Linked DNA regions of Homo sapiens: all the other regions are linked to region 2. Evidence: promoter capture Hi-C in 16 types of primary human blood cells and fetal thymus (Javierre and others, 2016). All regions are on one chromosome and are shown on one strand. Each heading gives the region's core, a stretch centred on a gene start or on the middle of the fragment in contact. The rest is flanking DNA. Distances are from core to core; before and after follow the strand shown.

Evidence for each region. Contacts are between HindIII fragments. The CHiCAGO score rates a contact against its expected background, and 5 or more counts as called.
Region 1: a contact is called between the fragment with the promoter of VN1R1 here and the fragment with the promoter of ZNF615 in region 2, in 1 of 17 cell types (non-activated CD4 T cells). The highest score is 5.6, in non-activated CD4 T cells.
Region 3: a contact is called between the fragment with the promoter of ZNF606 here and the fragment with the promoter of ZNF615 in region 2, in 1 of 17 cell types (non-activated CD4 T cells). The highest score is 8.7, in non-activated CD4 T cells.

The regions. Positions count from the first base shown.
Region 1 is chr19:57,454,902-57,458,560 of GRCh38, reverse strand. It overlaps VN1R1 (vomeronasal 1 receptor 1), which reads left to right and starts at 1,421. Exons shown (of 1, transcript NM_020633.4): 1 at 1,421-3,659. The coding sequence starts at 2,075. The coding sequence ends at 3,136. The HindIII fragment of the contact is 5,648 bases long and covers 988-3,659 here.
Region 2 is chr19:52,006,702-52,010,426 of GRCh38, reverse strand. It overlaps ZNF615 (zinc finger protein 615), which reads left to right and starts at 2,216. Exons shown (of 7, transcript NM_001199324.2): 1 at 2,216-2,286; 2 at 3,097-3,134. It overlaps LOC124904755 (a long non-coding RNA gene), which reads right to left and starts at 2,129. Exons shown (of 2, transcript XR_007067321.1): 1 at 1,948-2,129. RefSeq lists enhancers at 1,706-1,785, 1,846-2,455. The HindIII fragment of the contact is 6,775 bases long and covers 1-3,725 here.
Region 3 is chr19:58,001,345-58,005,046 of GRCh38, reverse strand. ZNF606 (zinc finger protein 606) reads left to right here and starts at 2,227. Exons shown (of 7, transcript NM_001348022.3): 1 at 2,227-2,651; 2 at 3,677-3,702. It overlaps ZNF606-AS1 (ZNF606 antisense RNA 1), which reads right to left and starts at 2,153. Exons shown (of 4, transcript NR_036508.1): 1 at 2,001-2,153; 2 at 1,711-1,836; 3 at 347-664. RefSeq lists an enhancer at 1,876-2,295. The HindIII fragment of the contact is 14,498 bases long and covers 1-3,112 here.

The sequences.
Region 1 (3,659 bases), core at 172-2,671, 5.4 Mb before region 2:
TTTGTGGGAATCTAAAAGGTTTTCATACCTCAGAGCCTGAGTTTTTTTTTTTTTTTTTTGAGACCGAGTTTCACTCTTGTTGCTCAGGCTGGAGTGCAATGGCATGATCTCGGCTCACTGCAACCTCCGCCTCTGGGGTTCAAACGATTCTCCTGCCTCAGCCTCCCGAGTAGCTGGGATTACAGGCATGCGCCACCACCTCTGACTAATTTTTGTATTTTTAGTAGAGACGGGGTTTCTCCCTGTTGGTCAGGCTGGTCTCGAACTCCCGACCTCAGCTGATCCACCAGCCTCGGCCTCCCAAACTGCTGGGATTACAGGCGTGAGCCACCTCTCGCCTGAGAATCTTGATACTGCTGTGTTATTGATTGCTCCACCCCTAAAGAGATGTAGTTATTCATGGGAGAAAATACCTCATAATTTTCCCTGATGATAGCAATTCCATAGAGACACCAAAAGAATCTAAATTATGGCCGGGCGAGGTGGCTCATCCCTGTAATCCCAGCACTTTGGGAGGCCGAGGCGGGCGGATCACGAGGTCAGGAGATCGAGACCATCCTGGCTAACACGGTGCAACCCCGTCTCTACTAAACACACACACACACACACACACACACACACACACACTAGCCGGGCGTGGTGGTGGGCGCCTGTAGTCCCAGCTACTCAGGAGGCTGAGGCAGGAGAATGGCGTGAACCCAGGAGGCTTCAGCCTCCCGAGTAGCTGGGACTACAGGCACGCACCACAACACCCAGCTAATTTTTGTATTTTTAGTAGAGACGGGGTTTCACCATGTTGGCCAGGATGGTCTCCATCTCCTGACCTTGTAATCCACCCGCCTCAGCCTCCCAAAGTGCTGAGATTACAAGCGTGAGCCACCGTGCCTGGCCGCAGTTACTATTTCTTTTGTGATTGATATATATGAATATTGTGCAATGAAATTCCCTCCCAATTGAATTATCTTTCCCTAAAAATAAACCCAAGCTTTCTGGAACATATTGAATTTCCTATTTAACAAGTTTTAAGGATATCTTAGGTGTTTCTGGGATTAGTATTTATTTTCAGGATCTTTTGCATTTACTTGTGAGAAATGGCATTGAGATAAAAATGTGTGGGCTCAAGGTGGTCATGGTTATTTCTACGGAGTCAATTCACAATCTCTAGACCTGTCCGGTGGAAAATAACAGAAATATATGTGCTTAAAATAAAATATACCATGATGCAATGTTGATTGTTCCAAAAATTATAGTTTTTAAAAATTCTTCAAGTTAGCATTTGTACTGTGCTGAAGGCCTTGTTACCAATTGTATTGTAGCGTTTTTTTAATTTCTTTTTTTTTTTTTTTTGAGACAGAGTCTCGCTCTGTCGCCCAGGCTGGAGGGCAATGGTTTGATTTCAGCTCACTGCAACCTCTGCCTCCCAGGTTCAAGCGATTCTCCTGCCTCAGCCTCCCGAGTAGCTGGGACTAGCACGCGCCGCCATGCCCGGCTAATTTTTGTATTATTAGTATTTTGTATTATTAGTAGAGACAGGGTTTCACCATGTTGGCCAGGATGGTCTCCATCTTGGCCTCCCGAAGTGCTGGAATTACAGGTGTGAGCCACTGCACCCGGCCTAAAATTTGTTTCAATGCATCAATAACAATGGTGTTTACTAAAATATTAGTGTGGAAAAGGTTTTATGGTGTATTATTTTTGCTTTTCATATCTCCAGGCTACTTAATTGAAGGTTTTATTGAAATAAGTGTAGACTCACAAGCAGTCATAAGAAATAATACAGAAAAAGCCCTGTCCATATTACCCAGGGTTCCGTCATGATTACATTTTGCAAACTATAGTATAATATCACTCTAATGATATTGACTCTTCTGTGTTCTGTTTTTATATATTTCCCTAGTTTTGCTTGTATTTACTTGTTGCATGTGTGTAAGCCCTGAGTTTTATAGGTTTGATTTGTGGATCTGTTGTGCGGTTGAGCCCTCATTCATTCACCTGCTTCTCTGCAGTTGGACACACAAGCAATTGCCTTTGCACGAACAGGGACAATCTTAATTTCTGTTTAAGATGAGAAAATATGGTTGGAGACACATTAAAACTTCTGTCTCCACTGATGACAAGATACTTCTTTCTGCTTTTTTATTCTACTGATTCTTCAGACCTCAATGAAAATCAACATCCCCTAGATTTTGATGAAATGGCTTTTGGAAAAGTAAAATCAGGGATTAGCTTCCTCATTCAGACTGGAGTTGGGATCCTGGGAAATTCCTTTCTCCTTTGTTTTTATAACTTAATTTTGTTCACTGGACACAAGCTGAGACCCACGGACTTGATTCTCAGCCAACTGGCCTTGGCTAACTCCATGGTCCTTTTCTTTAAAGGGATACCTCAGACAATGGCAGCTTTTGGATTGAAATATTTGCTGAATGACACTGGATGTAAGTTTGTCTTTTATTATCACAGGGTGGGCACAAGAGTTTCCCTCAGCACCATCTGCCTTCTCAATGGATTCCAAGCCATTAAGCTCAACCCCAGTATATGCAGGTGGATGGAGATCAAGATTAGATCCCCAAGGTTTATTGACTTCTGTTGTCTCCTCTGCTGGGCCCCCCATGTCTTGATGAATGCATCTGTTCTTCTATTAGTGAATGGCCCACTGAATAGCAAAAACAGTAGTGCAAAAAACAATTATGGATACTGTTCTTACAAAGCATCAAAGAGATTTAGCTCATTACATGCAGTCTTATATTTTTCCCCTGATTTTATGAGTTTGGGCTTCATGGTCTGGGCCAGTGGCTCCATGGTCTTCTTCCTCTACAGACACAAGCAGCAAGTCCAACACAATCACAGCAACAGACTCTCCTGCAGACCTTCCCAGGAAGCCAGAGCCACACACACCATCATGGTCCTGGTGAGCTCCTTTTTTGTTTTCTATTCAGTCCATAGTTTTCTGACAATTTGGACAACTGTAGTTGCAAACCCAGGCCAGTGGATAGTGACCAACTCTGTGTTGGTCGCCTCATGTTTCCCAGCACGCAGCCCTTTTGTCCTCATCATGAGTGATACTCATATCTCTCAGTTCTGTTTTGCCTGCAGGACAAGGAAAACACTCTTTCCTAATCTGGTTGTCATGCCATGAGTCTTTTCTCTTCATGGAATTCAGCTATTTATCATAACTCTTGCTAAGATTTAGGAAATATTAACTACTAGTTATTTGTGATAGCAACATACACATGGCCAGTAATGCTCTTGTCCAGGAAGATCTAATACCAGAGCTAAAAATGAAAGTCATGGATACTGTTACACAAAGAACACTCTATATAACTGTGTTAAGTCCTTCAGACAAGTTCAGGAAATCAAAAAGTTTAAAAAGGGAATTCTTTAGAGATTTAGGGGAGATTTCTCATTTTTGTACTATGAAGAATCATGGAATGTTTTAAAAATATTTTTAAAGCACAGTTTGATTCAGGTGCTTCTTGAACAGCATAAATCCCCTGGAGAGTCCACATGTAAGAAAGACATGTGCAGGCCGGGCACAGTGGCTCACGCCTGTAATCCCACCGTTTTGGGAGGCTGAGGCACTCCCAAATGCCTCAAGTGATCCACTCAAGATGACTTGAGGCCAGGAGTTCGAGACCAGCCTGGCCAACATGGCAAAAACC
Region 2 (3,725 bases), core at 967-3,466:
ATCTCAATTCATTTAAAGCAGTATGTAATTGACAACATTATTACCTACCATGCAGAAAAAGAAGACTTAAAGAGGCTTAGCATAACAGAATGCCTTTGTTCCATGGCCTTATAATCTAAATATGATTTGTCATTCAATCTTTACAAATCTTAATAAGGGTTAAAACATTTATATTTCACGTTTACTTTGCATTTGTTTGAATATTAGTAAAACTGGTATTTTTTAAATTGTTTAGGATCATTTACATTAAAAAAAGTGTCCTGTTTATTTCCTTCATGTATTTATAGAAAATTTTAGGGAGCTTTTAAGTTGATCATCTTTTCCTTATTTTTATTTATTTTTTTTTTTGAGACAAGAGTCTCACTCTGTCTCTCAGGCTGGGGTGCAGTGGCATGATCTTGGCTCACTGCAACCTCTGCCTCCTGGGTTCAAGCGATTCTCGTGCCTCAGCCTTCCAAGTAAATGGGACTACAGGCCTGAGACACCATGCCCAGCTAATTTTTTTTGTATTTTAGTAGCTATGGGGTTTCGCCATGTTGGCCAGGCTGATCTCAAACTCCTGAACTCAGGCAATCCTCCCGCTTTGGCCTCCCAAAGTGTTAGGATTACAGGCATGAGCCACCGCGCCCATCTTTTTTCTTATTTCTTTTCAGATCTCTTTATAGGCCGGGTGAAGGGTGAAGTGGCTCACACCTGTAATCCCAGCACTTTTGGAGGATGAAGTGGGAGGACTGCTTGAGGCCAGTTCAAGACCAGCTGGGCATCATAGTGAGACCCTTGTCTCTACAGAAAATTAAAAAATTAGCCAGGTGTGGTGGTGCCCACCTGTAGTCCCAGCTATTCAGGAGCCCAGGAGTTCCAAGTTACAGTGAGCTGTGATCTCCCCAGGCACTCCAGACTGGGCAACAGAGTGGACCTTGCCTCAAAAAGAGACAAAAAAAAAACAAAAAAAAAGAAAAACTCTCATATACCAAGGGTGAGAAGAGCAAATGGAACACGAACTTGACTCTGAAAAATAGTTTGACAATTTCTCTGTATATTTATATACTGATACCTATATCACACACATAGATTCACACAGGCATTTCCTTTCTCTCATTCTTCTAATATAGGAAGTTTGGTTGGATTTATATTTACAGTTCAGCATTGCCATGACTTTGCACATACTATTCGCGGTTGGCACACGTAGTATAACGTGATCTCCTTCTTAACCTTTCTTTCTTTTGTTTTTTTTTTGAGATGGAGTTTTGCTCCTGTTGCCCAGGCTGGAGTGCAATGACGCCATCTTGGCCCACAGCAACCTCCGCCTCCCGGGTTCAAGCGATTCTCCTGCCTCAGCCTCCCGAGTAGCTGGGATTACAGGCATGCGCCACCATGCCTGGCTAATTTTGTATTTTTAGTAGAGACAGGGTTTCTCCATGTTGGTCAGGCTGGTCTCGAACTCCCGCTCTCAGGTGATCCGCCCACCTCGGCCTCCCAAAGTGCTGGGATTACAGGCGTGAGCCACCGCGCCCGGCCTCTTTCCCAACCTTTTTTTTCTCACTGAAGTGGTCCTGTTCCCTTAATTTCTGGCCACTTCTCCTGAGTCCAGCCCTCATATTTGGCTCCACCTGGGTCCCAGGCTCTCCCCTCCGCCTTGGGAACTATACTTTCTGGCTTTTACTGGCTTTTCCCCATGCCTTTCACCCAACATAATTTTGGCACGTTCCAACCGTTTTCATTACCTAGTCTGTGACTGCTACCCCTGTTCCGTCAGCGTAGCTAACAGCCCTCTTCTGCGTTCAAAAGGCGCTTCAAGCTACTTTGTTAGAAATCTGGCTTTGGCCGAAGTGTCCCCTCTCGGCCGGTTCTCCTTTTCCCTCACAAGGAACTGTTTCCTAACCTTTGTACAAAGTGTAAACGTCGCGGCCATCTTAGCCTTCTATTCAGCTGCTGAAAGGGATTTACCTCCACGCCATTTTTGTCTTGTGTAAACTGGAGCCTCTGTATATGGACCCGTATTTATGAAGGGTTGAGGTGCCAGGAAATGGGACAGTTTCAGTGCTCTTTCATCTTCCCGGCCATCCCCGGTCACCCCCGGTCACCCCCGGTCACCAGCGCCAAAACGCGCCCTTTGCCTTGTGTACGTCAGATACTCAAAGATGGCGGCCCCCATGGAGCCAAGGCGACGAGGGCGCGGCCATCTTGCATCTGCGCAAACGCTGGGAACGCCTCCGACCCTGGATAGTCGCCGTCAGGCACTGAGGAGGCCGAGAGATGAGGCCGGAGCCCACCAAGTTCTGGGAAGTAAGTTCAGTCACTGGGTGGTCGCTGTGGTGACGGGGGAGGAAATTCTGTCCGTGGCTGGGCGTGTTCGTGGACAGTGGTGATGGACTGGTATCTGTCGGCGCCAGCGTTTGGCGACGCCAGTGGAATTCTTTCAGGAGCTTAGCGTGGGTCCGATTCCTATCGCAGGGGAACTACAAGAGGTCCGTGATAGGGTGTGTGTGTGTGTGATCGGGGTACCTCTGGGACCAGTCACAGGGTCCTCGTGTAGTTTGTGGTTAAAGATCTCTAGAGATCCGCTACTGAGTGCCCAAGTCACATTCTGGTGTCTTTGGTGTTGTCCTTTGGCGGGGCTCAGTGATTGCGAACTGGAGGGTTTGTTTTGTCAGCGAATCGGTTTATGGTTCAGGTTTTGTTTGGGACTAAATGATTGAGGAACTGTCTTGGGGGTTAAGGTACGGAGGTTTCTGATCCAGGTTTTGGAATTAATCCCGGTGGCGGTGGTGGTAGCGCCACAGATTCCGATGTGGGCTGCAGCTCTGGAGGCCTGGGAACCATGGCAGGTGATGGGTTAGCCCCAGCCCTGGCTGCTGGAACAGAATTGATGCTCATTAGCATTCCCCTTCTGCCCAAGACCCTTCTCCACGACTGGTTTTTAAATCCCCTTTGGCACCTTCCATCACCCCTTGGTCTTGAATCCTCAGAAATGGAAGTTTTTGGCGAGATCAGTCATCTAGCATACCTAAAAGTAGTATGTTTTATATTTAAGATGCGGCTTCTACCCTTTGTCCTGCAAGTTTCCAGCGTATCCTCTTGGATATTTCTTTTCAGGTTCTTTCTGACACAAGTAAGATAACATCTCTGCCATGGTAAGCTCGGTTACTCAAAGATAACCTTTGTCAAATTTTCAGAATATTTCAATTTTAGACGTGTATGTTATGTGCTTAATATTCATAATTCAGATAAATTATGTAAATGGTACTATTATCTTTTTCGCTTTATATTATGTAATAAACATTTAGAAGTTGTTTTTACTGTTTGAGCCGGTGGTACTATAAGTGCATTCACATTAAGTTTATGCGTACATTTGGATAGAAGTGAAATGTTTTAAAATGTTTAGGTATTATTTTTAGGAACATTTTATGATTATCCATTTATCCATGAATTTTGTTTTTCCTGCCTTTAATCTTCAATCTAGACTATTACTTTTATTGCAGTGTATTGCTTTCTGACTCCCCTTTCCTTATAATCTATAACAAAAGATAAATTAATTTTAAATATTTATTTTATATTTGGTCATCTTAATTCTTAGTATTACAATATTTTTCTCTCTGCCTAACATATTATTTTGTGAAAATTTTTGAACCTATGGAAATATTGAAAGAAGTTTAATGTTAATACCAATATGCCTACCACCTAGCTTTTACCATTAACATTGTATTAGATCAGCTCTACTGGTT
Region 3 (3,702 bases), core at 978-3,477, 6.0 Mb before region 2:
AGTTCCCTCTCAAAAGTGAACAGAGCTACCTCATCTCTCTTTAGAATATGAATTCTAGTCTTATTTTATATGAACATTGAGGTTTGTGTAGCAGGTATTTGGTGATTGCATATCTTAAAACTTGGCTTCTGTACTGTATGAGACTATCAGTTACGATACGAAGAAAATAAAAAGAGAGTAATACAATTGAGAATTAGGGAGATGAGTCACAGCTGGCTGTTACCAGGATGTGACATCTGTGCTGTGATCTGGATGAAAAAAAGAAAACCCTGGGGCTGTACAAGGAAGAAGATTCCAGGAAGAGGAAACAATACGTACAAAGGCCCTGAAGCAGGAATGGACTTACCCTGTTTGAGGAGTGGCTGGGGTCCAGAAATGGGCAGGAATGACAGGAGATGAGCTTGAGGGACTGAGGTGGGGTGTGGGATAGGACAGAGGCCAGTCCTGCTGAGTTTTCTAAGCTGTGAGCTGGAATTTGGATTTTACTTTAATTACTTGGGAAGCCAGTGCAGAATGTGAGGCAAGGACCTGATGTGAGATCCTAAAAGTGCCCTTGGCTGCCTGCTGGAGGATGAGCTGTAGGGGGCTGGAGTGGAAGTGGAGAGACACTCTCTTCTTACTTCTGTCACTCTTCCTTCTCCAGCCTCTCTTTCTCTGCTTGATCCTGAGATGGAAATTGTGGCTGTACCATCCATAGATTGCTTTCCTCTCAGTGCCCACTCTGACTGGGTTCACCTTCCTGCCAGCTGGGGCCTGTCCCAACACCTTGCCCCTTCCACCTTACCTCTCTCATGGTCCTCTCCCTCGAATTCAGCCTGTCCTACTTGAAATTTTCCTCTCCCTTGAATTCAGCCTGTCCTACTTGAACTTTTCCTCTCCCTCTGAAAGGGCTACTCCCCTTTGCCCACCCACAGTGAGTGCCAACACCACCCAACAACAAAAGCCCAACCCACAGGCCAGCTTTTTAAAATGATCCTCCATTACTAGTGGAAATATCTTCAAAATCTCTCTTGCCCACTGCTCACTCAAGTCTAGCTTCCTAAATGGCCATGCTTTCTTTGGTATCACCACCTACAGTCCCTCAGTCCCTTTTTTTGAGACAGAGTCTTGCCCTGCTGCCCAGGCTGGAGTGCAATGGCTTGATCTCGGCTTACTGTAGCCTCCGCTTCCCGGGTTCAAGCGATTCTCCTGCCTCAGCCTCCCAAGTAGCTGGGTACAGGTGCCCTCCACCAAGCCCGGCTAATTTTTGGTATTTTTAGTAGAGACGAGGTTTTATCATGTTGCCCAGACTGGTCTCGGAACTCCTGACCTCAGGCGATCCACCTGCCTTGGCCTCCCAAAGTGCTGGGATTACAGCTGTGAGCCACCGCGCCCGGCCCGTTTTTGTTTGTTTTAATGCCGGGTCTTGCTCTGTTGCCCAGGCTGAAGTGCAGTGGTGCGATCATAGCTCACTGCAACCTTGACCTCCCAGGCTCAAGCAATCCTTCCACCGCAACCTCCTAAGTAGCGGGGACTACAGGCGCGCGCCATCACACCGGGCTAATTTTTGTATTTTTTTTGTAGAGATGTGGTCTCGCTATGTTGCCCAGGGTGGTGTCGAACTCCTGAACTCAACTGATCCTCCCGCCACAGCTTCCCGAAGTGCTGGGACTACAGGAATGAGCCACCGCTCCCGAACCGCTCCATGCATATCGATAGAGGAAAACTCACAGGGTGCGTCGCTGGTAACCCATGCTCCCATAAAGCCTGGCCTCTGGAAAGAGACTTGGGAACGAGCCCTGACGTTCTCAGCCGTCGAGCTTCACAGAGAAGGGTAGCTCGAATTAGGTTCCTTATCTTAAAGAGAATAACAGCAGTCACTTTCTCACAATCTTGCGAACGCCAAATGGAAGGATCCCTCGAGAGCGCTGAGAACTCGCCGAGCTCCTCCCGGGAAACCCGGTACCACGAGGCGCCATTTTGCGGATGGGCAAACCGAGGCCCGCGGGGCCGCGACTTACCCAGGCCTTTTTGCAGTGGGAGGCGACGGTGGAGGAGGGTGGTCTGGGACCGGGACAACAAAGTCCATCCTGCCGCCGGCTTCGACGCAGGTGCCAGAAAGGTCCCAACCCCGCCCAGGCAGGGCGAGGCGGCGCGGCCCAGGAACCTGTCATGGCGGCGCCGCTGCCCGACGCCGGAAGTGCCCGCCTGGAACTACAGCTCCCAGCAGACCCCGCGGCGCGCTCCGGTCGACGCCGGGGAAGCAGCCGCCATTGTCCGCGGCTGAGGTGAGGCCTTTGCTCAGGCTGTGGGGCCGCCGTAGCTGCGGGGCTTGGGGGGTCAGGAGAGCCGGCTGGGAGAGGCGGCGTCAGGGTGGGTCCTGCGCCTGCCCTTTCCGCGCCGGCTTTGCGCCGTCGTTGCCGTCGGTTCTCCAGCCAGCAGCCTGCCTCCGGCCTCCCGCCTCCGGGCGTTCTTCGTTTTCTGGTCGGACGGGCCTGGGTGAACTCTGCTGCACGTCGGCTCCGCGGGCCTTTGTCCCCGAGGCCGCGCCGGGAGCTCCCAAGCGCACTCCTGGGCCGGACCTCGGCGCGGGACAAAAGCCAAACGCCCCAGGCGGGCAGACCCCGATCCTGCTGCGCCGCCTTCAAGGGGGACCGCCGGCCGCGAGCCAGGTGAGGCCGGGACGAGCTTTTGCAGCGTCGCGGCCGCGTCGGTCTTGAGGAGGAAATTTGGGTCGGGAGCTCTGGAAGCAGGTGATAAGGATGCTTCTGAGGCCATTGATGGGACGAATAACCCCGTTCGTTCCCCAGCCGTCGTTTCTCCCCCTGCCAGTTCACACAAAGCACTGTGAAGGACGTCAGACCTGGGTTGGAAACAGCTCCGGGTTCCCTTAAACATGCAGTGACGGCGGCGGTCACTGTCAAGTTGCAAATAATGGTGCAAAGTACGGTTTGCATTCTGCGTTTTCGCGCTGATTCCGGTGCTCCTGAGGCCCACTGTGTGTTCTAGTGCTTTATACACATACCCAGGAATCCATTCGAGAGGTTGCTGACTTGTACAAAGATCTGGAACCTGAGGAGTTAGGGGTCTGGGCGCCAGGCCCATCTCTAAGTCCTCCACACACACACAAGCTTAGGCTTAGTAAATCTTGGAGGTGAATTTTTTTTGGAGGTGGGATTAAATTTGCATAACATAATGTTCACTTTAAGCACTTAAAAGTGTGCAATTCACCGGTTTTATTGTATATTAATAAAGTTGTGCAATCATCCCCATTATCTAATTTTAGAACATTTCATCACCCCACAAAGAAACCCTTGTTCCCCTTAAGCAGTCACTCCCCATTTCATTTTTCCCCCAGCTCTAGGCAACCACTAATATATGAGGATTGCAAGTTGATTTTACAATAATTGTCAGATTAATCCAAAAGTTCCATCTGTGTTGTGACTGGCTGTCTCTTGGGAATAGCTGACAAATTTGTACCCTCTCATTCAGGATCATGCTCTTTTTTCCAGCTTATGCAAATTACCTTTCATTTCTCTCCAGGAATTGTGTTACTTTTTTGACATGTAAATTCTCTTTTCTTACGATGCTCCTTACAAGTTTTTTTGTTGCTTCGGTGGATGGATTCCCTTCTTTGTTCCCACTTGGTCTTCTGTGAGAAAGGACTAGTTTTGTCTTTTTTCACTTTTGTCACTAGGTTGGGATTTGCTGTGTTCCTGGGCA